4 separate regions of the Homo sapiens genome follow, and regions 2, 3 and 4 are each linked to region 1. The links are contacts of gene promoters, found by promoter capture Hi-C in blood cells and fetal thymus (Javierre and others, 2016). All regions are on one chromosome and are shown on one strand. Each heading gives the region's core, a stretch centred on a gene start or on the middle of the fragment in contact. The rest is flanking DNA. Distances are from core to core; before and after follow the strand shown. Region 1 holds the start of CHL1 (cell adhesion molecule L1 like). Region 2 overlaps CHL1 (cell adhesion molecule L1 like). Region 3 has its middle 43 kb from the start of CHL1. Region 4 overlaps CHL1 (cell adhesion molecule L1 like).

Region 1 (4,759 bases), core at 653-3,152:
CATCAAATATGCATATGGTGTTAAATTTAAAAATCTATGGTGTTAAATTACTTGTATCATCTCATTCCAGTCTTGCAACAACCCAGTATAGAGGGTATCGATAATCTCCGTATTATTGAGAAAGGGAAACTGAGGCACGTAGTTAAATGCCTAGTCCAGAGTGACGCATCACAGTGATGGTGGAGCTGGAATTCGAAGCCACGTGGGCGTCCCGGGAGCCTCCGCCTAGAGCGAGCCCGGGGGGCCCACCAGTTACCATCGCCACGCGCACGCGCAAATCTCCCCGCGCACGGCGCGTTCCCGCGGGAGCGCGCCCTCGCGCACGCGCCTGGCAGGGCAGCCGCTCGCCGGCCCTGGGGCTGCTCCGCGGCTCCCACGAGCGGGACTGGACGCCGGCGCCCTTCGAGGAGGGGCTGAACCTGGGGCGCCCTCTCTGCCGGGCCACCCAGCCCTGCCGACGCACACCTGCCCTCCGCCGCCGGCCTCCCACCCCTTCCCCGCCCGCCTTCCCGCCCAGCAGCCCAAACGCCCACCCTGCGCTCCACCCTGCTGGCCGTCTGGGGCGGGGGTACCTGGGCCCGCGCGGCTGCTGCTCCTCCGGCCCGTGGTTTTTCGCAGGAGTTCCCCGGCCCTGCCCCTGGCTGAGACACTGTGGCTCGCAGCGAGCCCGGAGAGTGGGAACGGAGGGGCTGGCTTTCCCCAGCCTCCCGGCTCCAATCCCTGCTCCCCAAATTAATCACTTTCTCCGTGCTGCCTCCCCACGCACACTCACACTCCAAAAAAAAAAAAAAAGCGAGAGAAAGAGAGAGGCACAAAGAGGAAGAAGGGACCATCCGCGACCGGCATCTCCAGCCCCCCGGGCTCCGCTACCAGGAGCCATGGCAACCACGGCCCCCGGCGCGCCCTCTCGCCCCTCGGCGGTCTGGGGAGGTGGAGCTCTAGCCCCTCTCTGGGTTTTCGTGCTCCCCAACCCCACAACCCCACGGTCCATGGATTCCCCGCTCCAGGCTGGCGGCATTTTCGGAACCCCCCCCGGGCTGGGATCTAGAATCCTCTCCTGAGAGGAGGAGCCACACAGGGGCAGTGGACTGGGGGGGTCTGAGCCCCACACACCAGGCGGTGTCCAGGGGAGCGAGGGGCGCGGTGGGAGACAGAGGCCGGGACTGACCCCCAGACCAGCTAGACCTCGGAGCCCCACCCGAGAGAGGGCGGAGATCTACGGGGGGGTCTGGAATCCTCCTCAGAGAGCAGCGAGGGATGGGGTGGCGGAGGCTGGAAGCGGGAGGGCCAACCTACCGGCGGCCGGCGGGCGTGAGTGGGACCCGGCGGATTCGGGCGCCCGGTGTGCTCCGTCGACTGACCCCGAGCTGTCCGAATCCGGCCTCGGCCACCGGGGGCGGGGCGTGAAAAGGGGGCGTCTCCTCCCGGGTGCAGGCTGAGGGGCCCGGACCACCCCCACTGCGGACGAGGGACCCTGACCGCGCCCCGCTTCCTTTCCATAACGAGTGGACCCCTCCCGGAGCACCTTCAGCCCTTCCTCCACGGGAGACCCCCCCAGCGCCGGCACGAGAGATGCCAGCGGACCCCCACCCCTGACACACCTGCGCCGCCTCCGAAACGCGATCTGTCCGGCGCCTCCCCTCGGGCGCCTTCTCCCCCGAGCCGGCCGGGAGCCGGGACGGGGGCGCGCAGGGTCCGGTAAGCTCTGGGCGGATCCAGGGAGGGTCTCGCCGGCCGCTGCCCGCTGGTCCGCACCCGGGGCTGTCCGCGGAGGTCCCGCCCGTCCCCTCCCGCCGCTGGCTCTCTGGCCGCGGGAAGGCTGGAGCCGTTCTGGCTGGCACCGGGGTCTACGCCCTCCTGCCGGAGGCTGGCTCTCGCCTCTGCTCCCTTCCTGGGTTCTGCGCCGCCACCCCTCACCCACGCCGCTTATCTTCCCTCCCTTTGCACGCTCCCGCGGGACAGGGAGAGTTACAGGCTTCAGACTTTATCTCGTTGTGGAAAGCAAGAGACCAAGCCAAAAACTTTGGTCGTGCTTTTCAACATCTCCGGTCAAAAGAGGTAGGATCCCTGCTCGTTTATCTGCAAAAGCGACATTTAAAAGAAACGCCCCCCACCCCCTCCCCGATGGTTTCACTCGGTTCATGTTGCACACACAGGTCGCCAATCTGCTTTTCTCCCATTGCTGCGTCTTAGAGGGGTGTGGTGCCATGTACGTATTAAAAATTGTCTTCTTGCTTTCCTTCATTTAAGGGCGTGGTGGGGCTTGCTATTGAATTTACAAAATATGCTACGACCATCCGCTGTCAAATTGTGCATGCTTAAATTTACAGATCTTCTACTATCTCACAATTTTTGCCCTAATACAGAGTCTATAATGTTACCACATCGTTTCGTAACGTTTTTCCTACTTATCCTTTATTAATTCACTATTGGAGAGGAAAGCCTTCTGTACTCATATTCAGTGCAAAAAGCCAGTTCTGATGCCTTATGAATCCACAAACACATAAAAATATTTTAGGATTCCAAAATTCATATGGAAAAATTATAATTTTTAGCACTACATTTGATTTATATGCCACTTTATTTTTTTTCCATTATGGTGGTATTTTCCAAAATTTTTACAGGATACCACTTTTGAAAATCCTGTTGAATGCAAGTCCTCTTTGTTGGTAAGAGAATTATTGACTTCTAATTTTTACTCCACTAAGGCTGTGAGATTGACCTTACAGCCTCGTTTTGTTTTCATCTAGCTCATTGAACAATGAGGATATTTAGCTCCCCTCAGAGCTACCCTCAGAGTTGGATGAGCTATCCTCAGAGTTGGATGCCACCACCGGGAGCAGCAAAAGCGAAGGCAACTCATGATTCTGCCTCAGAAGCAATCGAATAAAATATTTTGAAAATGAATGAATGGACTTTTAAATTTTAATCATCGCTAACCTTGGGGCCTCGATTCTGTCAATTTGTGTGTGGGCACAGTTCTTACCAACTGCCTTGGCAAATTGTGAATGCAAGTGAGGGCAGGATTTGTCCTAAGTTTAAATTGTACTGCTGGAGTGATTTCTTTTGCCTGAGGCATCATTATTCACGTGGCATGTTTTCTAAAGTAGAAACAAAGATAGAATATTAAATAAAATTCCAACAGGGGGAAATACTCTGCCTGTAGAAAAACATTTCCAAGGTCAAGGAACCACAAGAGAACAACAAAGCGAAGTTGGTCTCAGGAGTTTACCATCTTCTGGGTGAACAAACATCAGCTGAGCAAGGGACTCGGAACTCCATTTTGGCCAGATGAACAGAGTACTCTTAAATATATAGCTCCTTCTTTCTTGGTGATTTGTTTCTTGACAATAGAATCATTATTTACAAAACAAATATTTATTGAGCAGCTACTATTTAATCAATCACTGGTCTGGGTGCTGGGCTCAGTAGGAAACTCAATAGGCATGGCCAGTAGCTTTTTAAAAAATCAAATACCCTCCAAATATATTAGACAGTACCAAGCCACAATACCCAAAACAAGAAGATGGCCAGTTCTTAACTATGAGTTTTTAACTGAAAGGGAGATAACATTCTTCTAAGCTTCTGGCATTGCATATAAATGAAGAAATAATAGCCACACATAGCTTACTAGGGACAGTAAGGAAGTCAGCTTGTATGCAATACACGTTATCCCAGGCAACCAAATTTTACGAAAGAAAAGAGGGAGATAGGGAAAGTCTAGGGAAGGAAAAAAGGGAGGAAGGAAGGAAGGAAGGGAGGAAGGATGGAAAGAAAGAAGGCCAGCAAATGATAAACCAAGAAAGGAAATCGTACTTTTTAAGGCAATGCAAAAGGAAGACAGATGACCTAAATTTCTACATCCAAGAAACACCTCATAGCTGTCGCTTCCAAGGATGAGTTCATATTTTTGATACATTATCAAAAGCAGGCAACACATCTAGGCTTGCCTGGCCCCAGGAATTCACAACTCTACAGCCTGAGCTTCCAGTAAGGCTGGAACCAGAAGACAGTCCCCAGCCAGAGCGGATGCTTGCTAGAGATACCTTCTGCTGCTGCTTTGGAACCCTCCCCTGGCTCCCATTCTACTGTCTGACACTTGGTTCAGACCCATTTCCCATTCAACATACAATCCTAATCTATCAGGCATCCCACAGTTGCACCTAGGTGCTAGAGAAAGAAGATATACTTATGAGTCACATGGAAATGTGATTGCCGTAGCTTTGAAAGGTGTGAATTTTCTCTCTGATAATTGAGGACGGCCGTTTCGAATGAAAATACTAATATCAAGCCACAAAAATAGGGGAGAAAAGGGCCCTATCATGAATAGAAGCAGAAGGTGAGAGAGAGGCCAGTCATCTGGAAAAAGATAAAAGCTATTAAAAGCTGGGGCATTTTTCAGCTTTTCCTGCTGATTTACTGCCTCCCTCCCTCCCTCCTGAACCATCATTTGGTATCATTCCCAGAGCTAGGGCCATTGAAGTAGTATTGCCTTTTGGCAAATACAAGTAGCTAGTGATGTGGCATCATTCCTAGAAAAATTGTTTAGCAGAAGAGCTGGAGTTTTGAAAATGGCATTTCAGTCTAGCAGTTCCAAATAGTCACAGATCAACAGGGGCTTTCCGGCCAACTGCTGTAATAAAAAATAAAAATAAAAAATAAAAAGCAGGAAGCAGGATGTTCCACTGAGGAATAGATCCTTCAAAAGCAACCTTGAAAGTACAAAGCAGCCACTTCAGCTTTGATATTAATAAAGCTA
Region 2 (4,759 bases), core at 686-3,185, 60 kb before region 1:
CCAGCCTGGGTGACAAAGGGAGAATGTCTCAGAAAAAAAAAAAAAAAAAGATGTTGCCATACGTTTAAAATAAAGGTGTGTGATAATTGTAGTACCTTCTTTATAAAAAAAAAAAGGGGACTTAGTTAATAACAATGTGATGAAATTGCCAAAAAGTTAGTAACCTTAGGGTATGGATAAAGAAGTATGATATCTAGAACAAGAGATGCAATTGTCTCACTTTCGTTTGTCCCACTGAAGCAACACCTGGAAAATTGTATCCAAGTGTAAATGCTTCTATTTAAAACTGATTCAGACAAGCTGAGCTTATTCAGAGGCAAGGTCCGAAGATGGAAAAAGGGACTGACATTATCTCATGGACGGAAAAGTTGAAGGAGCTGGAAATGTTTTCTTGAAGAAAAAAATGGCTCAAGTAAGACATGAAATCTATCTTCAAACATGTGAAAGTAATAGAACAGGGTTTCGATTTTAATTTCCATGGTTCCACAGGGGAGAACTGGGGAAAACAAATGAAAATTCTTGAGAGAGAGATTTGAGGCTCCTACAAACATGACTCCAAGCTTGGACTTGAAAGCCCCAAGAGGGAGAGATGTGGAAGTAGATGTTGGCCACAGATTGCAATGGCAATACCCTTCAGTATCCCAAGAGTGGTTGAAGTGAAGGACATCTGAGGTCTTGTTGCCTGAAACAACCTATAACACATGACTCATAATTCTATGATTCATAATAATATGATTGATTTCCCCAAGACACAATATTCTCTCTTAATCTGAGAGGCCTTTCAAACCAGAGGTCATGTTGCTTCTGCCTGGACAGACAGCCATGGGGGAGCAAGTGAACGTTTTAAATTGATGCAGTTGGCCATTAAAAGGGCCCTGCAGGTGTTTTCAAGGTTTGCTCCCTCCTTTGGAGACTGTCCTCTTTCAGCCTTCCTGCGTCACCTCCCATGTGGTCCCACAGTTATGCAAACACATCCAATCCACCGAACATGCTGCCTCTTCCGGAGCCATTCAAGCTGCAATCTCCAGATTCCATCTTCTCCTTCAAGATGAGACAATGTTAACAAAACAAATAAATTCAATGATTTCTTCGCCTATTTAAGTGACATGATTATGATTTTTTTCATATCTGTACGCTACTTGCACTTATTTGTAATTGGCTTACTTTTCTATTTAAATTAAAATATCTTAATATGTTCTCCACTGCTATAAACAGGAAATCAACACTACTTTACATAAAAAATACATGAATTGAAATAAAAACAATTTTAAATAGACCTGTGGCAAGCTGAATCTCTGATTTTGAGGTTTGCTGTCTCTTTATGAAAAAGAGAGCCAGGCACAGTGGCTCACACTTGTAATCCCAGCACTTAGGGAGGCCGAGGCAGTAGATCACCTGAGGTTAGGAATTTGAGACCAGCCTGGTCAGCATGGTGAAACCCCATCTCTACTAAAAATGCAAAATTAGCCAGGCATGGTGGCAGGCACCTGTAATCCCAGCTACTTGGGAGGCTGAGGCAGGGGAATTGCTTGAACCCGGGAGGCGGAGGTTGCAGTGAGCCGAGGTGGTGCCACTGCACTCCAGCCTGGACTACAGAGAGAGACTCTGTCTCACAAAAAAAAAAAAAAAAGAAGAAGAAAAGAAGAAAAGGAGATGGTGTTAAAAATTAGTTATAAAATCATGATAGCACAAAACCAGCCTTTGACTCTACCTGAAATATTGAAAGAATTAAGGGAAAGAGAACTAAATTTTTTTTAAATGCTTTATGTAAGTTTATTATTTAATTATATCTTAGATTACGTATGATCATTTGATATCCCTTCAGTATTTTCCATCCCATAATCTGGTATATACTGAACTAAACAAAGCTAATGCCTCCATATTTGAGGTGACATGAAGCCATACCACTAAAGATACACAGGTGGACAAAACTTTAAGGAATAACTAATTAGAGAATGTGAGACACCATGGAAAATCCATGGAGGAGGCATCTTTAATCCTTACATATTAGGTATCCCCTTGAATGGGAATTTCCATGGAAAGGCAACCACAGAAATACACAGACTCGTGTCTTTGCTCCTAAGCAGCCCACTTTTGCCCAGATTCCAAGGCTGGTAAAATAATGTTGTCTGATTCAAATCATGCCATCACTCAGTCATCCAAAAACATATTTAGCAACTACTGCATGCTGAGCAAGCTCCCAGGCGCCAGAAATACAATACCAAAAAGATACATATGAATCCTCCCCTCGTTCCCAAATTTTCATGGGAATTTTATGGGCCAGGATGACTAATACAATTCTCTAAGCCAGAGTTTCTCAACCTCAGCATGATTCCATTTGGGGCAAGATAATTCTTTTTGGGCATTCAGTTGTCCTGAGTGTTGCAGAACATGTAGCAGCATCTTTGGCCTCTACTGACCAGGTGCAAGTCTCTCCCTCATTAGCGTTAACAGCTAAAAATATTTCCAAATGTTACCAAATGCTCCTGAAGGGCGAAATCACTCCTGGTTGAAAACCACTACTCTAAGGCCTTTTTCTCTGGTCCAAACCAAAGGTACTGAGTTGTACAACTCTAGATAATTCTATTCATATTTATTCTGTGTTAAGTTACCACTTAGAGTGGTGCAATAGCTGTACATCACTCAAAAGGAGGAGCTCTGCTTTACCATGCTATAAGTAAAAATTGCATGCTATGGTAATATACAATAATTTGGAGATTTCATGAAGTGCCAGAATACAGACTACCTATCAAAGTCATACTATATTTTTAAATTTCATTTATCAGTATTGTTTCACTTTCATGTTTCATCTCTTTGTCAGGCACACTTATGCATACACAGAAGCATGAAACCTCCTTACTTCGCTTAGAATATGTTTAGCTCTAAGCAGAACTCAAAGTGAGGAACTAAAGGCATTATTGATAGATGCTGTAGATAATTATAGGTAACTCACTATTCTTTGGGGAATGGGAGCATGAATCCCAGGAATTTTAGAAAGTTGAAAGTGTGGAAGTAGGCAAGGTAAGAAATATCCTCAATCCACAGACACCTTCCTTTTAGATAGTGTAAAAAACCGATGGTTCACAACCCTAGTTGTCTTACAGGACAATGGGTAGACATTAAAAAGAGCAACTACCACGACAAACAAAACAGCTACCTGGGCTCCATCCACTGAGTTAGAGTATCTGTCCAGGGATCCTTAGATCTAAAATATGCTACGGGCAATGGCAATAGGCAGTCAAAGGCGAGAACTACTGTTCTAGGTTGTCAGGAAATACTAGGAAAAAACTATGCAAGAAAATAAAGCTTGAAGTACACAGATGATCCATTTATCTTTGCATTTTTTAGATTTTAGATACCAACTTGCATCCATTGAGCACAGATACTTGCCCAAAATAGAATAAAAATGCTTAGTATTTAGACTTTTTCCCACACATACAGCAGTACAGTTTAGTGTGTATGTATGTATACACACACACACACATACAAAGACACCAAAAGGCTGTCAACAGTGTGTATCTGAGCCTCTCTGTGACCTAGAAGTTACTGAATTCTAAGTTACTTGAATGATCTCTAATTGTAAGTCAATGCAGCATAGAAATCATAATCACTTAAAACGTCTGGAAAGGTTTTTATGATCACATGAAACTCTAGGAAGTCTTCCCTGTTGCCTTTGAATCCTAGCAGCTGGGACTCCAGTCATTTCAGTGAATAAGAAAGAGACTTTTTAACTACAAACAACTGACTAACTGCATAACAACTCTAACTCAAAACATCGTTTTGCCAGAATGCAACCACTGTTTGAGACTGTAATTATGGTAGGAAACCAGTGAGCAGGTTAAGAATGAAGGGGTATATGAATAACATTCTGAAAGGAAAATTAATCTTTCAAGTCTTGAATTCAAATACAAATTCATGCAGCAAAAACGGGCCCCAAAATTCAGAACAATTGTAGCTAGAGATGGAGATAGGCAAATCCTGGTATCTGAGGAAAGGGTAGGGACAATAGGAAATATAACTTTGGCTTCTTTGCATGATGGTAGGGTTTGAATGCATCCCTTCCCAAATTCAAGTGTTGAGACTTAATGGTCAATGTGATAGTATTAACTGGTGGGCCTTTAAGAGGTGATTAGGTCAGAAGGGCTCCTCCCTCATGAATGGGATTAAGGCCCTCAGAAAGGCCTTAGAAGAGGCTTCATGCAGGATTTAGCTAGCTTGCCTTTCCACTTTCCAATATGTGAGGCATGGCTACCTCCACTCTGAAGGAAGCATCGAGAAGGCCCTCACCAGATGCTGATGCCTTGATCTTGGACTTTCCAACCTCCAGAACTGTGAGACATAAATTTCTACTATCCACAAGGTATCCAGTCTGTGGTATTCTATTATAGCAGCACAAAAGCACCAAGATACGTGGCTTATAAGGCCCTGCATAGTCTGATGTCTGCTGCCCTGACAATCATCTCATCACAAGCTCCCTGTATCCCAGCTAAAAAACCTATCTTTAAGACCCTAGAAAATACCTAGCCCTTTCTCAGATCATACCTTGGAACTATACTTCTCCCAGTTTCAGTGGGTATCAGCCCACTTTACCTCCTTAGAGAGGCCATGTCACTAGCTTGGGCAGAGATATTTGAAAATTACCATAGCAGGTTGGTTTCCCTGGGAAGAAGAGTCTTGTTTATTAGTGAGGGATGTGAGATCAATTTATGGGAAAGGGGTGTTCGGAAGCAGGAGTTGTCCAGAGCTGAGCTGATGGTGT
Region 3 (4,759 bases), core at 1,147-3,646, 43 kb after region 1:
AACAGAATGTAATCAAAAGTTTAGGAGACATTAAGAATGAGAATATTTACTGATATGTACGTAAGTTAAAGAAAACAAAAACGGATGTTGAGGCCTAGACCATAGCAATGGCAGGAAGCTGTTACAACTCTTAAGCTTGAAGCATGGAGAGGAGGAAATAATATTATTGGAGACCAGAGTGAAATGCAATTTTGGAGGAAAGGCTGCCTGGTAAGAGCTTTAAGTTGTGGAGGCATGCAAACTCTGTAAGAAAATGCAGCCCAGAGCAGGAAGGAATCAAGGGGAGAAACAGACCTTCTACTCTCTCTGTCTGTACATAGACCTGCCAGTGACTGGCATCAGCTATATCCTATGTCAGTGGTTTTCAAACTTTAGCATGCATCAGAGTCCTCAGAAAGACTGGTTGAAATATAGATTGCTGGGCCTCACCTACAGAGTTTCTGATTTACTAGCCTTGACGTGGTGCCCCAAAATTTTTAGTTCTATTTAATTTTCTTTTTTTTCTTTTCCTTTTTTTTTTTTTTTGTAGAGATGGGGATCTTGCTATGTTGCCCAGGCTGGTCTTGAACTCCTGGCCTCAAGCAATTCTCCTGCTTCAGCCTCTCAAAGTGCTAGGATTACAAGCATAAGCCACCATGTCCAGCAAAATTTGCAGTTCTAATGAAAAAAGTTTCCAAGTGATGGTAATGCTGCTGGTGGTCCAGGAACTTTACTCTGAGAACCACTTGTGTACAGGAAACCAGGCAGCAAGAAATCCCCAGTGATGCAATATATTATATAAGAGATCAACCTCTGAGGCAGGAATAGAGCAGACAAGGCAGGAGTGTGGGTCTGGGGAGAGCCAAAGGAAAACAACCAGCACAAAGAGAAAAAACCAGAAGGCAAATACAATATGAAGTTGGCAGGTTGGATGTATAAAATCTAGTGGCAGAAAGCTGCTGGGAAGGCTTAGTTCTTTAAATCAGTGTGGAGAACAAGGCAAGATCTCAATTCCCATTTGGGAACAGAGGGATGGATCGGGTGTACCAAGAATAAAACAGCCATAGTGCAGTAGTAGGATGAAAAAAGATGCATAGCGGGAGCCCAGGAAGTGAGTTACAAGAAACAAGGCAGGAGATTAATGCAGGGACAGTATCAAGTGTCCTATGATGCTCAAATACTTAACTTTGAACTGCTGATGAAGGACTTCTCCCCATTTTCCTGGTCATATGATAAGATTGGTCCCTGTGTATGATGTGGGAGATTTAACTTTTCCAACTTGTAAAATTGACAAACTGTTCACAGGAACTCAGCCAAATGAATAGAAACTTATTACATATCATACATATAATTAACTTTGCACCGTGGTTTAAATTAATGCTAATCAAAATGTAGATAAAGCACCTGTAGCATCAGCATCACCTGGGAGCTTGTTAGCGCTGCAAAGTGTCAGTCCCTAACTCCACAGATGTTGAATCAGTGTCCCTGGGGATGGGTTCACAAATCTGTAGTTTAACAAGATTACCAGGTGATTCTGATGCACACCAGAGTTTGAGAAGAACTGGTCAAAACAGCTGGCCCTCAAATTGGTTACATACTGGAGTCACCTAAAATGCTTTTTAAAAAATTCTCTGTCCTTATTCCACTCCAGAAATTCTGGTTTAATTGTAATGGGAGGCTCTCAAAGATGGATACATTATCTCTTTATGCAGGACCTTTTGCCATTCCATCATCAAGAGGTGCAGTTTATTTCTCTACCCCTCAAATCTGGGCATGACTGTGTCACTTGTCTTGTCCAATAGGTTGTTAGCCACCATGATGCAAGCAGAAGCTTGAAAAGAATTGAACATTGAGGTGTGATCCTTTTGGCTACCTTTGGAAACCTGAAATCATGTTTTTTGGATAATAAATCTAAACCTGGCTGGCTATTAGAGATATCACATGGAGGAGAAATTAGATGCCCATATAGTTTCAATGGATGAGTCTTCCCTCTCCAGTTAGATTACAAACTCCTTGAAGCCAGAAGAAATGTGTAAACCTCTTTGACATCTCTGAAAGAAACCAGCACAGTGTCAGGCTGACAAAAGAATGCTTAATAAATATTAACTGAAATAATATTGAATAATTAGGAAAAGGGTGGTCATTAGTAACTTGAGTCAATTACACATACCCTTAGTTATAATTACTATTCAAAATTGAACCAATAATTCTGGAGCTTCACAAATTACCATTTTATAGCAGACCAAATTTAGGAAATAAAAATTGTTTCTAAAGGAGAAAAAATGATTCACACTGGTATTTCCTGAGGGTTGTTCGCTTACATATGCCAAGTATTAAATTCTGCTAAAGTATTTCCAGCTATGAGTTTAATTAATCTGGTTCTGCATGCTCTATCACTGCTTTTGAATAATATGTCTTAATATGCAGATTCCCTGAACTTCAGGTCAAATAATAAAGAAAATTCATTAGACAGCAGCTTGTGTGCAACTAAGTGTACCTCTGCAAGAGAATTTTAATAATCAAAGAAGTTGCTGATGTAGGGATATGATAAATCGCTTTGCTACAGGGTAATATAAGCCTCAACTGGTATGATGAATACTTCTGCTTCACAAGGAAAACTGAAATAGTGCAAACTGTTTAAATATGTGTTCCTGATAAATGAAGACAATCATCTGCGAATATTCTAGAGGAGACACACTATGACTTTCATGTTAAAGTGAAATGTCTCTGTAGGAAAAGTGGCTTAAAGGAAGGCCTTTTGAGAAGGGAAATAGATACATAAAAGTATTTAATAGCACCAATGTATTTGTGGTAATATCTTTGGGACAATGATTGTTAAAAATTCATCCCCCAATTCATGATTATCAAACTTAAGAATAATTGGTTTTCAAAATTCTTTCTGAATACTAATTTTCATGGCTGATAATAAAGGAAGGTCTTTAACAACTGAAATCCCTGAGGTTTAAAATTCATTAACAGACAGGACACTTGTTTCTAAGCTTTCCCCGTATGTTGGTGTTAAAATACGACAAAAAAAAATACCAATTGAAGATTCACTATGGTTGTTTCTGTTTACAACATATAGAACAACAATATCCTGGGATCTAACAAAAATGTGACCAAAGGCTCCAGCAAATTTAGACCCTGAAGGGACATACTTTGTCCTTATCGATGGCAGATGGTGTCTCATATTCTTGTGGGGGCATTCCATTTTATATAGTGTGATTAATCTACACTTTTACCTTTATTAATGCACCCACTCGGTTCATTTTCTTTTGTTGCACTCCTACCTTTCTAAAGTTACTTTATACTTATGTTATTTTTAAATTTTTTCTCTTATCTGTGTTTGCTCTTAACATTATAAATGTTTTTCTTGATGCAACCTTGGCTTCTTTCTACAAGGGGTGTTGTAGTGCTCTTAATACTTTACATTTCCAAATAATTAGAAACTTCGTTTATATAAACACACACACACACATATAAATGTGTTTCATTTTTTCAAGACTTATTTAGAAGTGTGTGTTTATTATAATCTTTCAAGGCATGATATTTGATGATTCTTCAGTTTTTAATTGTCTAACTTTATTACCACTTTATTCAATTTTAAGTCTATATCATTTCTCTTTTGGAGACTATATTGAGATTTTTATTTTTGTCCTAATAAAGATCACCTTTTGTCAGTTTAAAATGTGTTTTAGAATATATTATTTATTGCTTTTTAGAGTTAAAAACAATTAAGTTATACATATTAGTTGTATGAAGCATATTAATCCTATTATTCATATTCACTTTCCTCACTCAGTTATATTGTCAATTAGATATGTCAGTTTCTAAAAGGAAAATAATATTCATTGTGATATTGACAAGTTCTTTTTTTTGGGGGGGGGGGTTTGTTTGTTCTGTTTTGTTTTTTGTTTAGATGGAGTCTCACTCTGTCACCTAGGCTGGAGTGCGGTGGCGCAATCTCGGCTCACTGCAATCTCCGCCTCCCGGGTTCAAGTGACTCTCCTGCCTCAGCCTCCTGAGTAGCTGGGATTACAGGGGTGAGCCACCATGCCCAGCCAATATTATCAAGTTCTTTTATTTTTATCAGTTTTGCATATAGTATTTCAATTTTATGTTTTGGTTAAGATACCACATTGTTAAAGAGATATAAAAAGTAAAAGTTACAGAAATACTGAGAAGAAGCCAAAATGAAAGCAAAAGCAATTCAAGAAAACATCGTAGACTGATTGTGGTGGTTCATGCCTGTAATCCCAGTACTTTGGGAGGCCAAGGTGGGAGAAATGCTTGAGGCCAGTAGTTCAAGACCAGCCTACCTTTTTTTTTTTTTAAGTAGCCAGGTGCATGCCTGTAGACCCAGCTGAGGCTGAGGCAAGAGGATTGCTTGAGCCTGGGAGGTTAAGGCTGCAGTGAGCAGTGATGGCACCACTGCACTCCAAGCTGGGTGACAAAGTAAACCCCATCCCCTCCCCCAATAAAGAAAAAAAAAGTAGAAAAGAAAACATTCTACATGAAATGGTGAAAGTGGTTGAAGTACTGGGAAAGTTGAGTCTACTGCAGATAAGACGTGGTGAGGCATAGGGGTGGGATGGTACTAATGAGAGGTAAACCATCCAAATCCAAATATATGATGTGCCATCCCGTGACTGTGATATGCCAATGGCTGTCTGAGGCCTAGAACCATGTTTGCCAAAGAGAAACACTTTAATAACATTAAATATTAATAACTGCTGTTGCTGTTTTTGAGAGAAAAGGTCTTACTCTGTCACTGAGGCTG
Region 4 (4,759 bases), core at 2,260-4,759, 43 kb before region 1:
CAGTCTCTCAGTGGGGAAAAGAAATAATGCAATGTTTGCATTTGTTGACTCAAAATGAGATTTGCTGACCCTGCTGTTCCATTTGCTGAGGTGAATGTTACATGACTTAATCTAGAATGTTCTTTATCCCAGTGATAAAGAATGTCATGCATTCAGGATCTCCTACAGCCATGGTACCACTTTTATTGTTCTAACATTAGATCTGTCTAAGACATCTCTTCAAAATCCATCATGTCATGAAGCCACCTCAGGTGGCTCTTCCCAATGGGTCCCCACTTCTTACCACTGTCAAGGACATTCATGACAACAGAGATCAGTACTTGTGCTGAATTACCCACCCCACTCTCACTTAGGATTTTCAAGACAGTTGTTTGACATTAGGCATGGAGACTGTAGCTATGATCAAACTTATTTGTATGCTCACAGCAGCAGCCTACGCCCACAGAGCTCTCATCTGCTTCCTTCAGCTTTGGTTCAGAAGGCATTCACATTAATCATGTATGTAAGTTCCTTGCTACTAATCTAATCTCTCTCTCTCTCTGTGTGTGTGTGTGTGTTTGTGTGCATGTGTTCTTAGTGTTTATTGTAAATGAAGAATTATCTCTGTATTATTTTATTTTATTTTATTTTATTTATTTATTTTGAGATGGAGTCCCACTCTGTTACCCAGGCTGGAGTGCAGTGGCACAATCTCGGCTCACTGCAAGCTCTGCCTCCCTGGTTCAAGCCATTCTCCTGCCTCAGCCTCCCAGGTAGCTGGGACTACAGGCGCCCACCACCACGCCGGGATAATTTTTTGTATTTTTAGTAGAGACGGGGTTTCACCGTGTTAGCCAGGATGGTCTCGATCTCCTGACCTCGTGATCTGCCCCCCTCAGCCTCCCAAAGTGCTGGGATTACAGGCGTGAGCCACCGCGCTCAGCCAGTCTCTGTATTATTAGGTTTTCTTTCATTCCTTCATGTTGTAGGTGCATGATCTCTGGAAAGAGATGCACAGACCATCCTTTAGAATGAAACAAGAAATATGGAAATATATACACACACATATATATATACATACACACACATGTACTTATGGTTTTTCATCTCATTTTTAAACATTTCTCTCCTTTTAATCTTTTCTTATGATAAATTTTAGCATACTAGTGTCTCTGTACAATTTAGGATATACATATAGTGGAGGGATAGACTCAAACACTATTAGATAAGGGTATATACACAATACACTACTATAATCTAAGAAAACGTCTTTCTAATTTTGTTTTTGTTATATTAACATGACATACAATCCTTTGAATTTATTTACTCTAGAAAGCATTTACCCTTTCCCTCACCACCATTGACATAGATACTAACGTCTTACTTATTCTCTGTTATTAGTGAAAAGTTGTTTTTTTTTCAAAGTCCCTTAGTTTCTTTTACTTAAGAGATACAAATAAATATACCCACCAAATGTAAAACAAGAATGGAGAGGAATATTAAAAAGAAAATATTAAAAAGAAAGTAATTTAAGGCGAAACAACATTTGGGTCCTTATTGGTTGTGTGCTTTGTAACTAAGATTTAAAAAGTATGACTGAAAGAAAATATAGTATATGCACAAAAAAACTAGTTAAATTAAACTCTACTGACTTGAGGCAAAGTAAAAAAAAAAACCAGAGAGAAGTATACTGGAAGGAGAAACAGCACTTGCTGAAGAGCAAGATACAGTAAAAACTGGGTTATGAGGGTACACTCAGCAAACAACCTACCCATGGCTGGTGTAATATGAGAGCTGCGGATCAGCGGAAGTCAGGGTCACTTGTTTTCTGAATATGAGCATGTTGTGACTCTGAAGTTATCTAATATTTCAAAGTAGTACTTTTCACACAACATACCCTCTACATCAAACCTATGACTTCATTAGATGCTCAGCAAGAGAAATGGTGATTGCTTGCCATGCTGGAAGAAAACTTGGCTTCACAAGACATTTTGAGACATGTCATTTTATGACATGACTCCTTTCTAAGCTATTTATAAGATAAATTTCTCCTTATGCACTGAACTGACAACAAATCATAAGTAATTTGAAACTCCATCTAGACAAAATTAACTAAAGGCCTAACAGCTATAAATATTCCTACTTCCTTTATTCTGTATTTAACATAAGAAATCTTGAGTTCCATAAGGGCATATATTAGTTGTACCAATGTCACTGCCTGGCACCATAATAAAACATAATATATACTCTTTGGATAAGGCCATAATCACCAAAACAGCATGGTACTTGTATAAAACTAGGCACATAGACCAATGGAACAGAATAGAGAACCCAGAAATAAACCCAAATACTTACAGCCAACTGATCTTCTACAAAGCAAACAAAAACATAAAGTGGGGGAAAGAACACCCTATTTAACAAATGATGCTGCGATAATTCGCAAGCCACATGTAGGAGAATGAAACTGGATCCTCATCTCCTACCTTATACAAAAATCAACTCAAGAGGGATCATGGACTTAAATATAAGACCCGATACCTATAAAAATTCTAGAAGATAACGTCAGAAAAACTCTTCTAGACATTGGCTTAGGCAAAGGCTTCAAGACCAAGAATTCAAAAGCAAATGCAACAAAAACAAAGATAAATAGGTGGGACTTAATTAAAGAGCTTCTGCTCAGCAAAATGAACAGTCAGCAGAATAAATAGACAACCCACAGAGTGGGAGAAAATCTTCACAATCTATACATCCAACAAAGGACTGACATCCAGAATCTACAAGGAACTCAAACAAATTAGCAAGAAAAAAACAAAAAATCCCATCATAAAGTGGGCTAAGGACATGAATAGACAATTCTCAAAAGAAGATATACATATGGCCAACAAACATAAGAAAAAAAATGCTCAACATCACTAATGATCAGGGAAATGCAAATCAAAACTACATCTCTGTACCACCTGACTCCTGCAAGAATGGCCATAATGAAAAAAATTTAAAAAATAGTGGATGTTGGTGTGGATGCAATGGAAAGGGAGCACTTCTACACTGCTGGTGAGAATGTCAACTAGCACAACCACTATGGAAAACAGTACGGAGATTCCTTACAGAACTAAAAGTAGCTCTACCATTTGATTCAGCAATCCCACTACTGGGTATCTACCCAGAGGAAAAGAAGTCATTACACAGAAAAGGTACTTGCACATGCATGTTTATAGCAGCACAATTCGCAATCGCAAAAATGTGGAACCAGCCCAAATGTCCATCAATCAACAAGTGGATAAAGAAATTGTGGTAAATATATATGATGGAATACTACTCAGCCATGAAAGGAGGAAATTAACCGCATTCACAGCACCCTGGATGGAGCTGGAGACGATTATTCTAAGTGAAGTAACTGAGGAATGGAAAACCAAAAATCCTATGTTCTCACTCTTAAGTGGGAGCTAAGCTATGAGGATGCAAAGGCATAAGAATGACTTTGGGGACTTGGGGGAAAGGGTGGGAGTGGGGTGAGGGATAAAAGACTACAAATTGGGTTCATTGTATACTGCTTGGGTAATGAGTGCACCAAAATCTCACAAATCAGCATAAAAGAACTTACGCAACCAAATACCACCCGTTTCCCAAAAGCCTATGAAAAAATAATTTTAAAATATATATATTTTATATATATACTGTTTAGATGAATTAAAGAATGAATGCATTAAAGCTACACATATCAATTAATAGTAGTATTCATAGTTCCTTCACCTTACAGTCACAAGTATGAATGTCATAGCTTCATGGAGCAGGAGGGAGCACATTACCACCACAGTGTCTGTCAAAAGAGATGCTGCAGCAGAGAAAAAAGGGACAGACAGACTGAAAACGGAGCAAGTGTGCACTTACTTGTTGTGCGATCGTAAGCTAATCAAGTAGCCTTTTAGAACTCTAGTTGTCTCATTGGTAAATAAGGGATAATAGTATCTGTTTTGCAGAATGGCTTGGAGGAATGGTACTAACATGCAAAAATTGCTTAGCACTAGGCTGAGATCTAGCCGGTGCTCTGTGATAAGCAAGGGGCAGCTGCGGTAGCAGCAGCCACATCACTGTTCTGATTGATGATGTCCAGTGAAGCCGGGAGGGACACTTGAGATCAGTCTCCGGGTTCCCCCTACTTGACAGTCCCCACTCAACTCAGCCATCAGGAGGAAATCACACAGTACCCCACGTGGTAGCATATGAACCTTGACAGCTGCTATATAAGCTACATGTGTGAGCAGCTACATGCCTTATTCTCACAAGACAAAAAAAAAAGATTTTTTGTTTTGTTTTGTTTGTTTGTTGTTTTAGAAGTCTTGCTCTTGTCACCCAGGCTGGAGTGCAATGGCGCGATTTTGGCTCACTGCAACCTCTGCTTCCTGGGTTCAAGCAATTCTCCTGCCTCAGCCTCCTGAGTAGCTGGGATTACAGACACCCGCCACCACATCCAGCTATTTTTTTTTTTTTTGTATTTTTAGTAGAGACGGGGTTTCACCATGTTAGCTAGGCTGGTCTCGAACTCCTGACCTCAGGTGATCCACCCACCTCGGCCTCCCAAAGTGCTGGGATTATAGGCGTGAGCCACTGTACCTGGCCAGAAAAGGGTTTCTTTACAATGTTTTATGCAAGATTTTGAGTTCCTTAAGTCCAGGTCGGGGAAAAATGATCTTATTAATTTTTGCCTTCCTAGTACTCAAGCACAATTGCTGTCAGATTGCCAAATATTGGTTGCTTAATACACATATGTTGACAAAAAATG

The links. The method cuts DNA at HindIII sites, captures the fragments that hold promoters and counts their contacts. A CHiCAGO score of 5 or more calls a contact.
Region 2: a contact is called between a fragment that was not itself captured here and the fragment with the promoter of CHL1 in region 1, in 2 of 17 cell types (naive B cells and total B cells). The highest score is 11.7, in naive B cells.
Region 3: a fragment that was not itself captured here is called in contact with the fragment with the promoter of CHL1 in region 1 in 2 of 17 cell types (total B cells and naive B cells); the score reaches 6.0 in total B cells.
Region 4: a contact is called between a fragment that was not itself captured here and the fragment with the promoter of CHL1 in region 1, in 2 of 17 cell types (naive B cells and total B cells). The highest score is 11.3, in naive B cells.

Annotation. Positions count from the first base shown.
Region 1 is chr3:193,906-198,664 of GRCh38, reverse strand. It overlaps CHL1 (cell adhesion molecule L1 like), which reads right to left and starts at 1,902. Exons shown (of 28, transcript NM_006614.4): 1 at 1,602-1,902. CHL1-AS2 (CHL1 antisense RNA 2) reads left to right here and starts at 1,324. Exons shown (of 4, transcript NR_144487.1): 1 at 1,324-1,698; 2 at 2,157-2,209; 3 at 2,625-2,669; 4 at 2,751-2,907. The HindIII fragment of the contact is 3,854 bases long and covers 1-3,584 here.
Region 2 is chr3:254,225-258,983 of GRCh38, reverse strand. The region is part of intron 2 of CHL1 (cell adhesion molecule L1 like); the gene reads right to left. Among named protein-coding and RNA genes, the nearest start is that of CHL1-AS2, 59 kb to the right of the region's middle. The HindIII fragment of the contact is 2,746 bases long and covers 563-3,308 here.
Region 3 is chr3:151,439-156,197 of GRCh38, reverse strand. No RefSeq gene overlaps it. Among named protein-coding and RNA genes, the nearest start is that of CHL1, 43 kb to the left of the region's middle. The HindIII fragment of the contact is 1,168 bases long and covers 1,813-2,980 here.
Region 4 is chr3:238,480-243,238 of GRCh38, reverse strand. The region is part of intron 1 of CHL1 (cell adhesion molecule L1 like); the gene reads right to left. Among named protein-coding and RNA genes, the nearest start is that of CHL1-AS2, 44 kb to the right of the region's middle. The HindIII fragment of the contact is 8,450 bases long and covers 1-4,759 here.